Regions from separate parts of the Homo sapiens genome. Here region 1 is linked to region 2. Evidence: promoter capture Hi-C in 16 types of primary human blood cells and fetal thymus (Javierre and others, 2016). All regions are on one chromosome and are shown on one strand. Each heading gives the region's core, a stretch centred on a gene start or on the middle of the fragment in contact. The rest is flanking DNA. Distances are from core to core; before and after follow the strand shown. Region 1 holds the start of ZCCHC10 (zinc finger CCHC-type containing 10). Region 2 holds the start of TXNDC15 (thioredoxin domain containing 15).

Evidence for each region. The method cuts DNA at HindIII sites, captures the fragments that hold promoters and counts their contacts. A CHiCAGO score of 5 or more calls a contact.
Region 1: a fragment that was not itself captured here is called in contact with the fragment with the promoter of TXNDC15 in region 2 in 1 of 17 cell types (total CD8 T cells); the score reaches 6.0 in total CD8 T cells.

What each region holds. Positions count from the first base shown.
Region 1 is chr5:133,023,411-133,030,227 of GRCh38, forward strand. It overlaps ZCCHC10 (zinc finger CCHC-type containing 10), which reads right to left and starts at 3,139. Exons shown (of 5, transcript NM_001300816.3): 1 at 3,087-3,139. The coding sequence starts at 3,127. RefSeq lists an enhancer at 2,899-3,208 and a silencer at 3,289-3,418. The HindIII fragment of the contact is 251 bases long and covers 1,543-1,793 here.
Region 2 is chr5:134,869,748-134,876,347 of GRCh38, forward strand. It overlaps TXNDC15 (thioredoxin domain containing 15), which reads left to right and starts at 4,624. Exons shown (of 5, transcript NM_024715.4): 1 at 4,624-4,783. The coding sequence starts at 4,681. It overlaps LOC124901071 (a long non-coding RNA gene), which reads right to left and starts at 5,651. Exons shown (of 2, transcript XR_007058943.1): 1 at 5,497-5,651; 2 at 5,084-5,385. RefSeq lists enhancers at 4,300-4,349, 4,370-4,659, 4,591-5,296, 5,190-5,259 and a silencer at 4,900-5,009. The HindIII fragment of the contact is 3,704 bases long and covers 3,744-6,600 here.

The DNA.
Region 1 (6,817 bases), core at 418-2,917, 1.8 Mb before region 2:
GAGTTCGTATTTAGACTTTTTTCCCCGTCTTCTTCTATTAGTCCAAAGACCTTTTTTTTTTTTTTTTTTTAAAGAACGATAAAGCCAGGTGCGGTGGCTCACACCTGTAATCCCAGCACTTTGGGAGGCTGAAGTGGGCAGATTACCTGAGGTCAGAAGTTCGAGACCAGCCTGACCAACATGGAGAAACCCCGTCTCTACTAAAAATACAAAATTAGCCAGGCGGGTAGCACATGCCTGTAATCCCAGCTAAAGGAGGCTGAGGCAGGAGAATCACTTGAACCTGGGAGGTGGAGGTTGCGGTGAGCCAAGATCATGCCACTGCACTCCAGCCTGGGCAACAAGAGCAAAACTCCATCTCAAAAAAAAAAAATTGATGATAGTGCTTTCTCATTTCTCATTACTAACTTAAAAACTATTTTAAATTTGTTGTTATGTAAGTAATATATGCTCCTTGTAAATAAAATTAAACCTTTTTGATGAATATAAAATGAAAAGTAAAGGCTCCTCTCCTGCTTTCCCCCCAAATTCTCTTGGACTTCGCAAGCCTCTAAAGGCCCTCCTTTGCTGAATCCCTTGGAGACTTACACTCTGTATACCACAACACTTTTTATAATATGCCACATGTTTGCTTCCCAACAAGACCAGAAGCTCCTTAAAGGTAAGATTTGTCTTTTACAAATCATGTAACTCATGTACCAAATACAGACATATTGTAGATATAAAAATTTGTTTAACTTTTGATACTTCTGAAACAAGAAATAGCAGTATTATTCAGATGCTAAGTCTTATTTTCACTTCATATTTAAAGTGGACATTGGTTTTGCCAATCCTGCATTCATTTAACTCCTCTGACCTATCCACCCTGGTTATCATTGGCTTATGGTCATCCATTCAATTGTACTGAAAGGAGAATAAGATCTCTAAATCAATCAGAGCTTCACAATCCCACAGGCATGGTTTAGCACTGGGCATGTAATCCAATCTAGACCAAAGAACTGCAATCAACTTGAAGCTGAGAGAATAGATAGGACCCTGGATACTGCAGCCATCTTGGGAGCAAAGAATAGAGCCTATCCAAATATGGAGCCAACAACGAAAGAGCAAGCATGAGAGACAGACAGGGAGAAATGGGATCCTGGTGACATCATTTAGCACTCCCTTTAAGTATCACCATCCCATTTTTGATCTCAGAATTGTCTGACTTAATGGTGGGCGCAGTGGCTCATGCCTGTAATCCCAGTACTTTGGGAAGCTAAGGTGGGCAGATCACTTGACATCAGGAGTTCGAGACCAGCCTGACCAACATGGTGAAACCCCGTCTCTACTAAAAAATACAAAAATTAGCAGGGCATGGTGGCGGACGCCTGTAGTCCCAGCTAGTCGGGAGGCTGAGGCAGGAGAATCATTTGAACCAGGGAGGCAGAGGTTGCAGTGAGCCAAGATCGCACCACTGCATTCCAGCCTGGGCAACAGAGTGAGACTCCGTCTAAAAAAAAAACAAAAAAAACCTGTCTGACTTCGAGCCTTCTTCCTTCACCAAGCTTACTACTCTAACTCCCTAAGTCTGTCTGTACATTTGAGGAACTCTTCTTATCAGGCCTGAAAGGGTAGATGGAAAGGAGAAGAAAAAGGGATTATTTGAATTAAAAAATATAAAAAGATATACAGATAAACACACATACATATACTAGCAGACTCTGAGCTACATATAGACATGAAAATGGAGATGGCATGAAATATTTATGAAAAAGAGGCAGATGTCTGGATGTGCAAAGGCTGTTGGAAAAAAAAGCTTTATAAGAAAGGGGTTGCCGCGCGCGGTAGCTCACGCCTGTAATCCCAGCACTTTGGGAGGCCAAGGCGGGCGGATCTCGAGGTCAGGGGATCGAGACCATCCTGGCTAACACGGTGAAACCCCATCTCTACTAAAAATACAAAAAACCAGCCGGGCATGGTGGCGGGCGCCTGTAGTCCCAGCTACTCGGGAGGCTGAGGCAGGGGAACGGCGTGAACCCGGGGGGCGGAGCTTGCAGTGAGCCAAGATTGCACCTCTGCACTCCAGCCTGGGAGACAGAGCAAGACTCCGCCTCAAAAAAAAAAAAAAAAAAAAAAAAAAAAAAGAAAGGGGCATCTGGGGTGACCCTTGCATTATTTGTCAGCTATGAATCTCTTCTGCCACTCTCTCTTGTTCATTAGGCGTAATGGCTATCTTTCAGTTCTGTAAAAAGTAAGTTTCAGGCTCAAAGCAATTATGCCACTATCCGGATGCTCTTTCTCAAAATCCTCGTATGACTGTTCCTTTTTCATCCTTTAAATCTCTGTTCAAATTCCACCTCTTCAGAGATGCCTTTCCAGTCCAACCAACCTAAAGTGGGCCTTTCCCTCTTTCCATCACAACAGCTTACTTCCTTCAAAGCTGTTATCACCAGCTGTATTTACAATTTGTGGTTTATCGACTGTTTCCATCACTAGAATGTAAGCTCTCTGAAAGCAAGGATTTTGTCTTGAACACCTCTATTTATACCCAATGTCTGGCACAGAACGGTAGGAACTAAATAAATTAATATTTATTGAAAGAGAGAATGAGTAGCAAAAGGTGGTAAGATAGCCTGGGAAAGCAATCGGCATTGAAGGCAGGGTGTTCCTAAGGAAGGCGCTAGAATAAGGAAGTAGGAAAAGGCAGCTGGGCTGGACACTGAATAGGAAACTGAAGGTTTACGTCGGCTGGAATAAAGGTGTCGGACCGGGGCTTCAGGGCTCCCCTGTCCACGCGTGGGGTTGGCGGAGGGGCATAAATCACTGAGTGACCAACTGTGGGCGTTCCTTTCAGAGAAACCAAACGCGACAGTTGTCTTCAAACCCCGCTCTGTCCCGTGCCGCAGACTTTACGCGGCTGTCTTCCGCGAAATCGCTAACCCCCGGTCACCAGACTTATCGCCCGGGCCCGAGCCCCCCGGGAGCCAGAAGAGTGTTTGAGAAACGGACATTCTCCGCCGGTCCCAATAGGGGTCCGACACCAGCCCGTTGACGCGCGTTTCCCCGCTCCCAGCCCTCCAGTGGACCCGAACCGGATCCTTACTTACGCTTGTCTCCGGGCTATTAGCCGATGCATGGGAGTCGCCATCTTAGCGCGGTCAAAGCCGGCCGCGCAGGGTTTTGGGAAACTCCTCGGAAGGGCGGGGCTTCCAACCGGGAGGCCGTAGACGTAGGCGGGGCCAGACAGGCTTCTAAGGGGAGGTATCTTAGTGCCGGCTGGTGGGTCGGGAGGGGAGGGGCTGGAGGGTCGGGAGGGGAGGGGCTGGAGGGTCGGGAGGGGAGGGGCTGGAGGGGCTGGAGGGTCGGGACGGGAGGGACTGGTGGGTCGGGAGGGGCCGGTGTCTCCAGTATGGGTCTCGGGTTCTCGGGCCGAACAGGGTTTCAAAGGATGATTACAGGCAAGAACATTATCTGTGGAAAATGAGGACAACATTCTCGAACGAGGGATACACATACAAAGACAAAGAATGAAACTTTGGTGTTCAGAAAACTAGAAGTAGTCTGGAGAATAGAAAGGAATTAGTTGACCAGGATTGAGACCATCAATTGAAAGAATGACTTTAGCAAGCCATGGAGTGCAAACATATACGTTATTTCTGTTTTTTATGTATTTCACAGCGTTGTTACGAGTACTAAATGGGACTGTATAACTAAAGCTGCTTTATCAAGCAGAAAAGGACTATACAAATATTTTAGAATATTTTAGCTGCACCTACATCTAATGTCAGCTCACGGAGCTATTATTCTCTTAAAACCCACGTTCTCTGAAATATATATAATTTTCTGAAGTGTGTGTGTGTTTCTGGGTCATCCATATTTTTTCCTTTTTTTTTTAATTTGAGACAGAGTCTCGCTGTGTCGCCAGGCTGGAGTGCAGTGGCGCGATCTCGGCTCAGTGCAACCTCTGGGTCCCTGGTTCAAGAGATTCTCTTGTCTCACACTCCCGAATAGCTGGGATGACAAGCACGCGCCACCATGCCCAGCTAATTTTTGTATTTTTACTAGAGACAGGGTTTCACCATGTTGGCCAGGATGGTCTCGATCTCCTGACCTCATAATCCGCCCGCCTCGGCCTCCTAAAGTGCTGGGATTACAGGCGTGAGCCACCGCGCCCAGCCATATTTTTTCAATTAATAATTAACACTTAAAATGTTTTAGGAGCTGAGGACAGAGCATTTGAACAAATAAAATCCGTGTACACATGGAACTTTCTACAGACAATGAATGAAGACTATTCTCATGGGCATAAGTACTCTAACGAAAAATATTTCAGAGTAAGGGATTAAAGAGTGATTAGGAGTTAGGGAAGGTGATGATGTGACCTTTGAGCACAACTTGTTCTTCAAAAAAATAGGCTCTTACATGTTGTGTTCTCCAGCTTGATTTTTTCATTCCTCAGTGTACTTATGAAAATGTTTTCCCGGCCAGGCGCAGTGGCTCACGCCTGTAATCCCAGCACTTTCGGAGGCCGAGAAGGGCGGATCACCTGAGGTTGGGAGTTCAAGGCCAGCTTGACCAACATGGAGAAACCCCATCTCTACTAAAAATACAAAAAAAATTAGCCGGGCGTGGTGGTGCATTCATGTAATCCCAGCTACTCGGGAGGCTGAGGCAAGAGATTCGCTTGAACTTGGGAAGCAGAGGTTGCAGTGAGCCGAGATCGCGCCATTGCACTCCAGCCTGGGCAACAAGAGTGAAACTCCATCTCAAAAACAAAAAAAGAAAAGAAAATATTTTCCCATGTCTGCACATACAGATCTAATTCATTCTTTTTATACATTATGTTATGGATTACATGGATATTCCCCAAGTATCCAGCCAGTACCCTATTGCTGAACAATTAGATCATTTACCACAACAACAGAAAGAGTAAATCCCCCGTGTTGCTATAAGATGACATCCTAGTAGGATTGCTGGGTCAAAGGACATGCACCCTGTTTTTCTTTTTTTTGAGACGGAGTCTACCTCTATTGCCCAGGCTGGAGTGCAGTGACACTATCTTGGCTCACTGCACCCTCCGCCTCCCGGGTTCAAGTGATTCCCCTGCCTCAGCCTCCCGAATAGCTGGGACTACAGGCGCCTGCCCCCGTGCCTGGCTAATTTTGGTATTTTTAGTAGAGACAGGGTTTCACCATGTCGGCCAAGCTGGTCTCAAACTCCTGACCTCAGGTGATCCGCCTGCCTTGGCCTCCCAAAGTGCTGGGATTACAGGCATGAGCCAACGCACCGGGATGGCGCTATTGTTTTTTTAAAAAATGTTTTTACCCTTTATGTTTTACCATTGGTTATTGTAACTATTCAGGAAACCTCGGTGCTGTAAATGGTAAAATTGGAATCTGGTACAAAAATCAAGTGTAGGTTTACCCTTCATATGCCTTGGCATAGAACAACAAGAACTCTTCTTCCAGTAGCATAAAAGAATTTAACTAACTTGGCTGGGCATGGTGTCTCACACCTGTGGAATGCAGTGACATGATCTTGGCTTGTGGATCACTTGATGTCAGGAGTTCAAGACCAGCCTGGCCAATATGGTGAAACCCCGTCTCTACTAAAAATACAAAAATTAGCCGTGAGTGGTGGTGCGTGCCTGTAATCCCAGATACTGGGGAGGCTGAGGCAGGAGAATTGCTTGAACCCAGGAGGCAGAAGTTGCAGTGAGCCGAGATTGCACCGCTGCACTCTAGCCTGGGTGACATAGCGAGACTTGTCTCAAAAAAAAAAGAATTACCCAGGCATGGTGGCACATGCCTGTAATCTCTGCTACTCAGGAGGCTGAGGCAGGAGAATCGCTTGAACCCAGGAGGCAGAGGGTGCAGTGAGCCAAGATTGTGTCACTGCATTCCACACTCTAGCCTGGGCGACGGAGCAAGATTCCATCTCAAAAAAAAAAGAAAGAAAAAGAAAAAGAATTTAACTAACTTGGCTAAATAAGGGAGTGGTTCAGAGCAGGGTGACCATTCATTTTGTAAAGAAGAGTGGCTATGCAAGGGGATTTGAGAGTGGCCATTCTGGGCCTCTGTGAGTAAGAAGCTCTGATTCTCCAAATGAAAACAGGATTGGCTCTTTCATCCACCTCTGGGCATGAGGGCATGAGTAGTGCCCGAAACTCCCCAGAATGAGGTGAGAGCTGCTTTCCTTAATTTATTTCCACTTTCCAAGAAGACCTAAAAACAAAATGCTCAATAGTTGTGTCATGTTTCCTTATCTTCAGATGAAGCTGCTTGGGTTCCTTAAAGTCCTCAGGCTTTGATGCAACACTTTGCTGTGACATAGATCATAAGGCTGTGTGATTGTGAGTCCAGGATTTGCTGGCTCCTCTGGTGATTTAAACTAGTCTGCAGTAGAAGAGAAGGAAATTGACATGCCAAGAGAAACAGAGATGAGAGACAGAAAAAGACCTACCTAGACTTGATTCGCTTTTCCTTCGATTATTTGGGGTTATCTCAGCTTCCTCAGTATATTCCTTTTTTTTTTTTTCCTACGAAGTCTCACTCTGTCACCCAGGCTGGAGTGCCCCAGCATGATCTTGGCTCACTGCAACCTCTGCCTCCCGGGTTCAAACAATTTTCATGCCCCAGCCTCCCAAGTAGCTGGGATTACAGGCATGCATCACCATGCCTGGCTAAATTTTTTGTATTTTTAGTAGAGATAGTATTTCACCATGATGGTCAGGCTGGTCTCAAACTCCTGGCCTGAAATGATCTGCCCGTCTTGGCCTCCCAAAGTGTTGGGTTTACAGGCGTGAGCCACTGCACCCAGCCTGCATTTCTTTTTTTAT
Region 2 (6,600 bases), core at 3,374-5,873:
TTCCTACTTTTTCAAAATCATTTTGGTTGTTTCATATAGATTTTAGGATCAGTTTGTCAATTTCTACAAATCTCTAGGATTTTTTTAGGAGTTGTATCTATAGATCAATTTGGACAGAATTGCCATCATAACAATATTGTCTTTCAATCCAGAACATAGTATGTCTCTCCACTGATTTTCATCTGTCTTGATTTCTTTCAGCCGTGTTTTTTATGTTTTAGTGTATAAAACTTGAACTTCTTTTGTTGAATTGAGTCTTAGATATTTTATTATTTTTGATGCTACTGTGAATAGAAGTTTTTTTTGATTTTTGGTAGCATATATAAATATAGTCTGTTTTCTGCATAGTGACCTTCTATCTGGCAACCTTCCAAAACTCACTTATTATCTCTGGTAGTTTTTGTTGTTGTTTTTGTTAATTTTTAAATTATTAAAAAAATTTTTTGGCCGGGTGCAGTGACTCATGCCTGTAATCCTAGCAGTTTGGGAGGCCAAGGCGGGTGGATCACCTGAGGTCGGGAGTTTGAGACCAGCCTGACCAATATGGAGAAACCCTGTCTCTACTAAAAATACAAAATTAGGCAGGCGTGCTGGCGCATGCCTGTAGTCCCAGCTACTCGGGAGGCTGAGGCAGGAGAATAGCTTGCACCCGGGAGGCAGAGGTTGCGGTGAGCCGAGGTTGCGCCATTGCACTCTAGCCTGGGCAACAAGAGTGAAACTCTGTCTCGAGGAAAAAGAAAAGAGAAAAAAAAATTGCCAGTACATAGTAGGTGTATATATTTATGGAATAAATGAGTTTCTTTTTGTTTTTGTTTTTTGAGACAGAGTCTTGCTCTGTTGCCGAGGCTGGTGTGCAGTGGCAGGATCTCGGCTTATTGCAACTTCCACCCAACCGGGATTCTTTTTTTTTTTTTTAAGAATCGGAGTCTCACTCTGTTGCCCAGCCTAGAGTGCAGTGGCCTGATCTTGGCTCACTACAACCTCTGCCTCCCGGGTTTAAGCAATTCTCCTGCTTCAGCCTCCCGTGTAGCAGGGACTACAGGCACATGCCGCCATGCCTGGCTAATTTCTATTGTATTTTAGTAGAGACGGGGTTTCATCGTGTTGCCCAGGCTGGTCTCGTGAGCTCAGGCAATTCACCAGCCTCAGCATCCCAAAGTGCTAGGATTGCAGGACTGAGTCACCGCACCCGGCCACCCCCCGGGTTTTAAGTGATTCTCCTGCCTCATCCTTCTGGGTAGCAGGGATTACAAGCATGGGCCACCATGCCCGGCTAATTATTGTATTTTTTAGTAGAGATGGGGTTTCACCATGTTGGTCAGGCTGGTCTCGAACTCCTGGCCTCAAGTGATCTGCTCACCTTGGCCTCCTAAACTGCTGGGATTACAGGGTTGAGCCACCGCGCCTGGCCCAGAGATGTTTGGATACAGGCATGCAATGTGAAATAAGCATATCAGGGAGATTGGAGTATCCATCCGCTCGAGAATTTATCCTTGATTTACAAGTAATCCAATTACATTCTCTTTTTTTTTTTTTTTTTTGAGATGGAATTTCGCTCTTGTTGCCCAGGCTGGAGTGCAATGGCGTGATCTCGGCTCACCACAACCTCCGCCTTTCGGTTTCAAGCGATTCTCCTGCCTCAGCCTCCTGAGTAGCTGGGATTACAGGCATGCAGCCACTATGCCCAGCTAATTTTGTATTTTTAGTAGAGACGGGGTTTTTCCATGTTGGTCAGGCTGGTCTTGAATTCCTGACCTCAGGTGATCAGTACGCCTCGGCCTCCCAAAGTGCTGGGATTACAGGCATGAGCCACTGCGCCCGGCCGACTAGTTTTAAAAAAATTTTGTTAGCAGTGTGAACTCATAGATGTTAACATATGCAGTGTATTTCAGTCTATTGAAATTTTTCATTTTTATGCTCAAATCATCCCATCTTTGGCAAGTAGGAGCCAGTTTGGTTCCTCAGTCATTCTAAATGACCGTAGTACCCTGGTATTCTTTTATTTATTTATTTACTTATATATTTAAGTTTTGCATTTTGATATAAGATGTCCCAGACTCACAGAAAGGCCTTTTGAGATAGCAAGACAAATTTGGCGGATTTAATTTCAGCCAAAGGAAGAGAATAATGTCAGCTTTTCTTTCCTCACCCCCAGAAATTTGATAGAAACCAGGACAATTGTGAAGGCAGTTTTCTCACTGAAAAGAAGTGCACGTTGGTGGTGAGACAGTTAAATAAGGATTCTAACCTGTGGACTACATTTGTTGTCATTAGAGGGGGTATATACAGTATTTATTCAAAGACGCTCAAGCCTGTAATCCCAGCCCTTTGGGAGGCCGAGGCGGGAGGACTGCTTGAGCCCAGGAGTTTGAAATCAAACTGGGTCAAACAGTGAGACCTCATCTCTAGAAAAAAATTTAAAAACGGGGTGGGAAGATCGCTTGAGCCCAAGGGGTTGTGGCTGCAATGAGCCATAACTGAGCAATTGCACCTGGGTGACAGCGAGACTGTGCCTAAAAAAAAAAAAAAATTGAAAGACAATTCTAACATCCAATTCTAACATCTAATTCTAACATCTGTAAGCGTATCTGTCCCAAACACAGAGCTAAAGTAAAAACACAGGAAGGGGCCGGGCGCAGTGGCTCATGCCTGTAATCCCAACACTTTGGGAGGCCAAGGCGGGTGGATCACCTGAGGTCAGGAGTTTGAGACCAGTCTGACCAACATGGTGAAACCCCATCTCTACTAAAAATATAAAATTAGTCGGGCGTGGTGGCGCATGCCTGTAATCCCAGCTACTTGGGAGGCTGAGATAGGAGAATTGCTTGAACCCGGGGAGGTGGAGATTGCAGTGAGCCAAGATCGCGCCATTGCACTCCAGCCTGGGCAACAAGAGCGAAACTCTTGTCTCAAAAAATAAAAAAATCAAACAAACACACATACAGGAAAGGAAAGGAGATAATAAAAAGGAAGGAGTAGTAACCACAGGGCATCCATGTTGGAGTATCCAGATCAGCTTCCTTTTCATTAGTCATAAATCCTTTTGGTGCTCTGTCCTGTTGGCTTTTCATGCACCTTCAAATCATGTATGGGGGTATGAGAAAGATAGTTTAAAAAGGAAAGGTTTGTTGTTCCACTGTTAGGGGTGAGGGAGGTACTTAGCGAAATGATGACTAGTAATAAGCTCTAGAACTGTGGGCTCTTTTATCCATGTCCATTGTTTCATATTCTTCTGGACCCACAAGATGGCACTTGAGGATCTACAACAGCAAAACCATACCAACGTATTTAGAATAAAAGAATCATCCACAGGGACAGATTAATGATGCATCTTTCTGGCCTAACAGTGTCTTTTTGATGGGCATAGAGATAAGGGGACTATGGCCACACCATCAGAATTGTATTATTCAATTAATAATGCCTACCACTTTGAAATGCTTCCTGTGCCCCAGGACACTGTGCTCATCACTTTACATCTCATTTCATCTATAAGACTCTATATAACGTCATTTCCACTTTACAGCTGAAGAAACTTAACTTTAAGTTACATAACCTGCTGACTGTGAACTATCACATGTGCTGAAGTTGGGATTCACCAAGCGGCCAAAAAGCACAGGTTCCCCTTACCATTGCTATGTTAACCAATAGACTGATGTATTTTAAATCAGTTTCTATTTTTTCAACCTCATAAGTTTGAAAAGCTGCACTCTGCACTGATTTAGCACTGACTGGTGGCTGCTTAAAGCTTGCCTTATTCCATTTTAGCAGGCCCCCCGGCAAAATACCCCAATTAGTGGTGTCATCCTCTCTATTCCAAGAATTTTCTCTTAAGACTCCCGCTCTGTGCGTTTGCTTGGGAATGCAGAGCCCTGTTCCTCATCTCCCCATCTATGCTTTCTTCATTCTAAGCCCTTTCCTATCTACTTTATGCTCGAGGTGGCTCCACCTCCACCATGAGCCAGAGCCAATGATGCTCACGGCCCCAACCATGATTAAAAAGAGATTGCCCTGCAAGGTAAATCAGTTAAAACCAACCTCTCCTGCCCTGAGTGGATAGGTAGGGTTAGGGTTGCCAGATGTCACGAAGTTACAGGATGCTCAGTTTTAAGGTATATCCCTTATACTATAAGGGTTATAGTAAAAAATATTCATTATGTGAAATTCAAATATAACTGGGTATCAGGTATTCTATGTGGCAACCCTAGGTAGGGGAGCACAGGTTAGGCAAGCGATTAGAAGATTTGCAGCCTCCAAAGTTTCTGCACCTCGATGGGACACTAGAACAGGAAGGCTCCTGGGCCTTTCTGGCTCTGGGAATGAAGCGTGGAAAACCCTCCTTAGGCGGGCGCAGTGCTTCAAGTAGCCAAGCTCTGACTTCCGAGGGAAGAAAGGAGGCCATGGGCCTCTGCCAGAGCCATGCTCTGCACTCTGGGGTCAGCAGAGTTCAAAACGACCTGCAACGTCTGGCGCTTAGCTCCTAAAGAGGTCTCCAGTCCAGCGCCGACGGCCAGCGGCTAGAGGCCGTCCGCCCGACTCCAAGATGGCGCCCGCCACAGCTGCCAGGTGTTAAGATGGCGGCGCGGGGCCGCGCCCGCGCTCCCAGGCTCTCCTCCCCCAGCCTTCCTCCGGCTGGCAGCACGACTCGCGTAGCCGTGCGCCGATTGCCTCTCGGCCTGGGCAATGGTCCCGGCTGCCGGTCGACGACCGCCCCGCGTCATGCGGCTCCTCGGCTGGTGGCAAGTATTGCTGTGGGTGCTGGGACTTCCCGTCCGCGGCGTGGAGGGTGAGTGTGGGCCGGGGGCGGTGCATGAGATGATGGGGCGAGCTGAGGTCCACCCGGGCGACGCTCTGGACCTGCGCGAAGGCCGGCGGTGCGCGACTCGCCCCTTCTTGGCGTCTCCCCGGGCGCGTCTCCCCGACTTCTCTCCCCGCGCACCGCCCGCTGGTGGCCCGCGAAAGGGGGCCGGTGGGCTGAGGGCCGGTGGACGGGAGCCCGGGGGTGGTTGGGCCGCGTTCAGGCCGCCCTCAGCCCGTGGCTGGTAGCCAGGAGGGACAGTGCGGTAAGCGCTGCTGAGGCATACCCTCTGGTGATAAGCAATTTATTATTAATAACATTATATCAAATACCGACATTGTTGTGGCCGTATTAGGAGCCAGGAACTGTGCATCGTGCTTTATTTACATCATTATCCCATTTAATGCTCCCACAAACCCTGTCAGATCGGTTCCGTTTAGTGTCTCCATTTCACAGATGAAGATGCTCAGGCCCCGCCTAAGTTTGCGCTTCTGATACGTGGCAGAAGCCTGTCTCTCTGACGCCAAAGCCCAGTCTGGAGTCCACGCTGCTGGACCACTGTCTTAAGGAGGCCAGTCTTGCTCAGCTCCCTGCATGAAAAACAGACGAGAAACACGGGAGACTCCCGGTAACCCCCAACTTGCCGGTAGGGAAGGCAGCCACTCTAGAGGCATGGCGAGGGTGGAGAGTGGAGGCCTTACTTTCATGCTCCTTCACCCCACTCCTCATAGTCCTGTTAAAGTCCAGACCCTCGGTCTCGCTTGTCATTTAGACCTTAACAGGAATAGGCAGGTCTTTCTTTTCCCTGGGGTGTCCTGGATGGAGGCAGGACAGCAGAGAGTTGTGGAGAAGGGTGAGTCATAGTAACACAATTACCATGAATGAAAGCGCTCACTGTGTACCAGATGCTGTGCTCAGTGCTTTACGAGCATCATCTTTTGGAATCTTTACTGTTTTGTTTTTGTTTTTTTAAGGGATGAGGGCTTGCTCTGTTGCCCAGGCGGGAGTGCAGTGGCCCATCATGGCTCCCTGCAGCCTTGAACTCCTGGGCTTAAGTGATCCTCCCACCTGTTTCCCAAAGTGCTGGGATTACAGATGTGAGCCACTGCTCCCGGTTTATGTAATTTTTATTTTTATTTTTTTTTGAGATGGAGTCTCGCTCTGTTGCCCAGGCTGGAGTGCAGTGGCGCGATCTTGGCTCACTGCAACCTCTGACTCCCGGGTTCAAGCGATTCTCGTGCCTCAGCCTCCTGAGTAGCTGGGATTACAGGTGCCTGCCACCACACTGGGCTAATTTTTGTATTTTTAGTAGAGATGATGGTCCACCATGTTGGCCACGCTGGTCTGGAACTCCTGACCTCAGGTGATCCACCCACCTCGGCCTCCCAGAGTGCTGGGATTACAGGCTTGAGCCACCGTGCCTGGCCTTAGTAATTTTTAAATGCATATGCAGTAGATGTTATCATGCTCATTTTATAGAAGTAACTTAAGACTCAGAGCCAATAAGTCCTTTGACAAGGTCATACAGCCAGAAGTTGAGGAGCCTTGATTCAAGCCCATGTCTGCCTGACTTCAGAGCCCAACCTCTGCATTTTCACTATACTTAACTGCTAGCCTCACAGAGGGGATGGCATGGGTTGGATATCTTCTGTTTCAGCCCCTCCACCGTGCTCTGTGCCCTGTGTGGCTGTCCTGTGTGGAATAAATACCAGCTGTCCTACCGTCTTGCTTCCATTGTGTTGGAATGAGGGGAGAGTGAGGTCAGGGTATTGATTCTCTCCGCTCCCTCCCTGAGAAGTTATTGA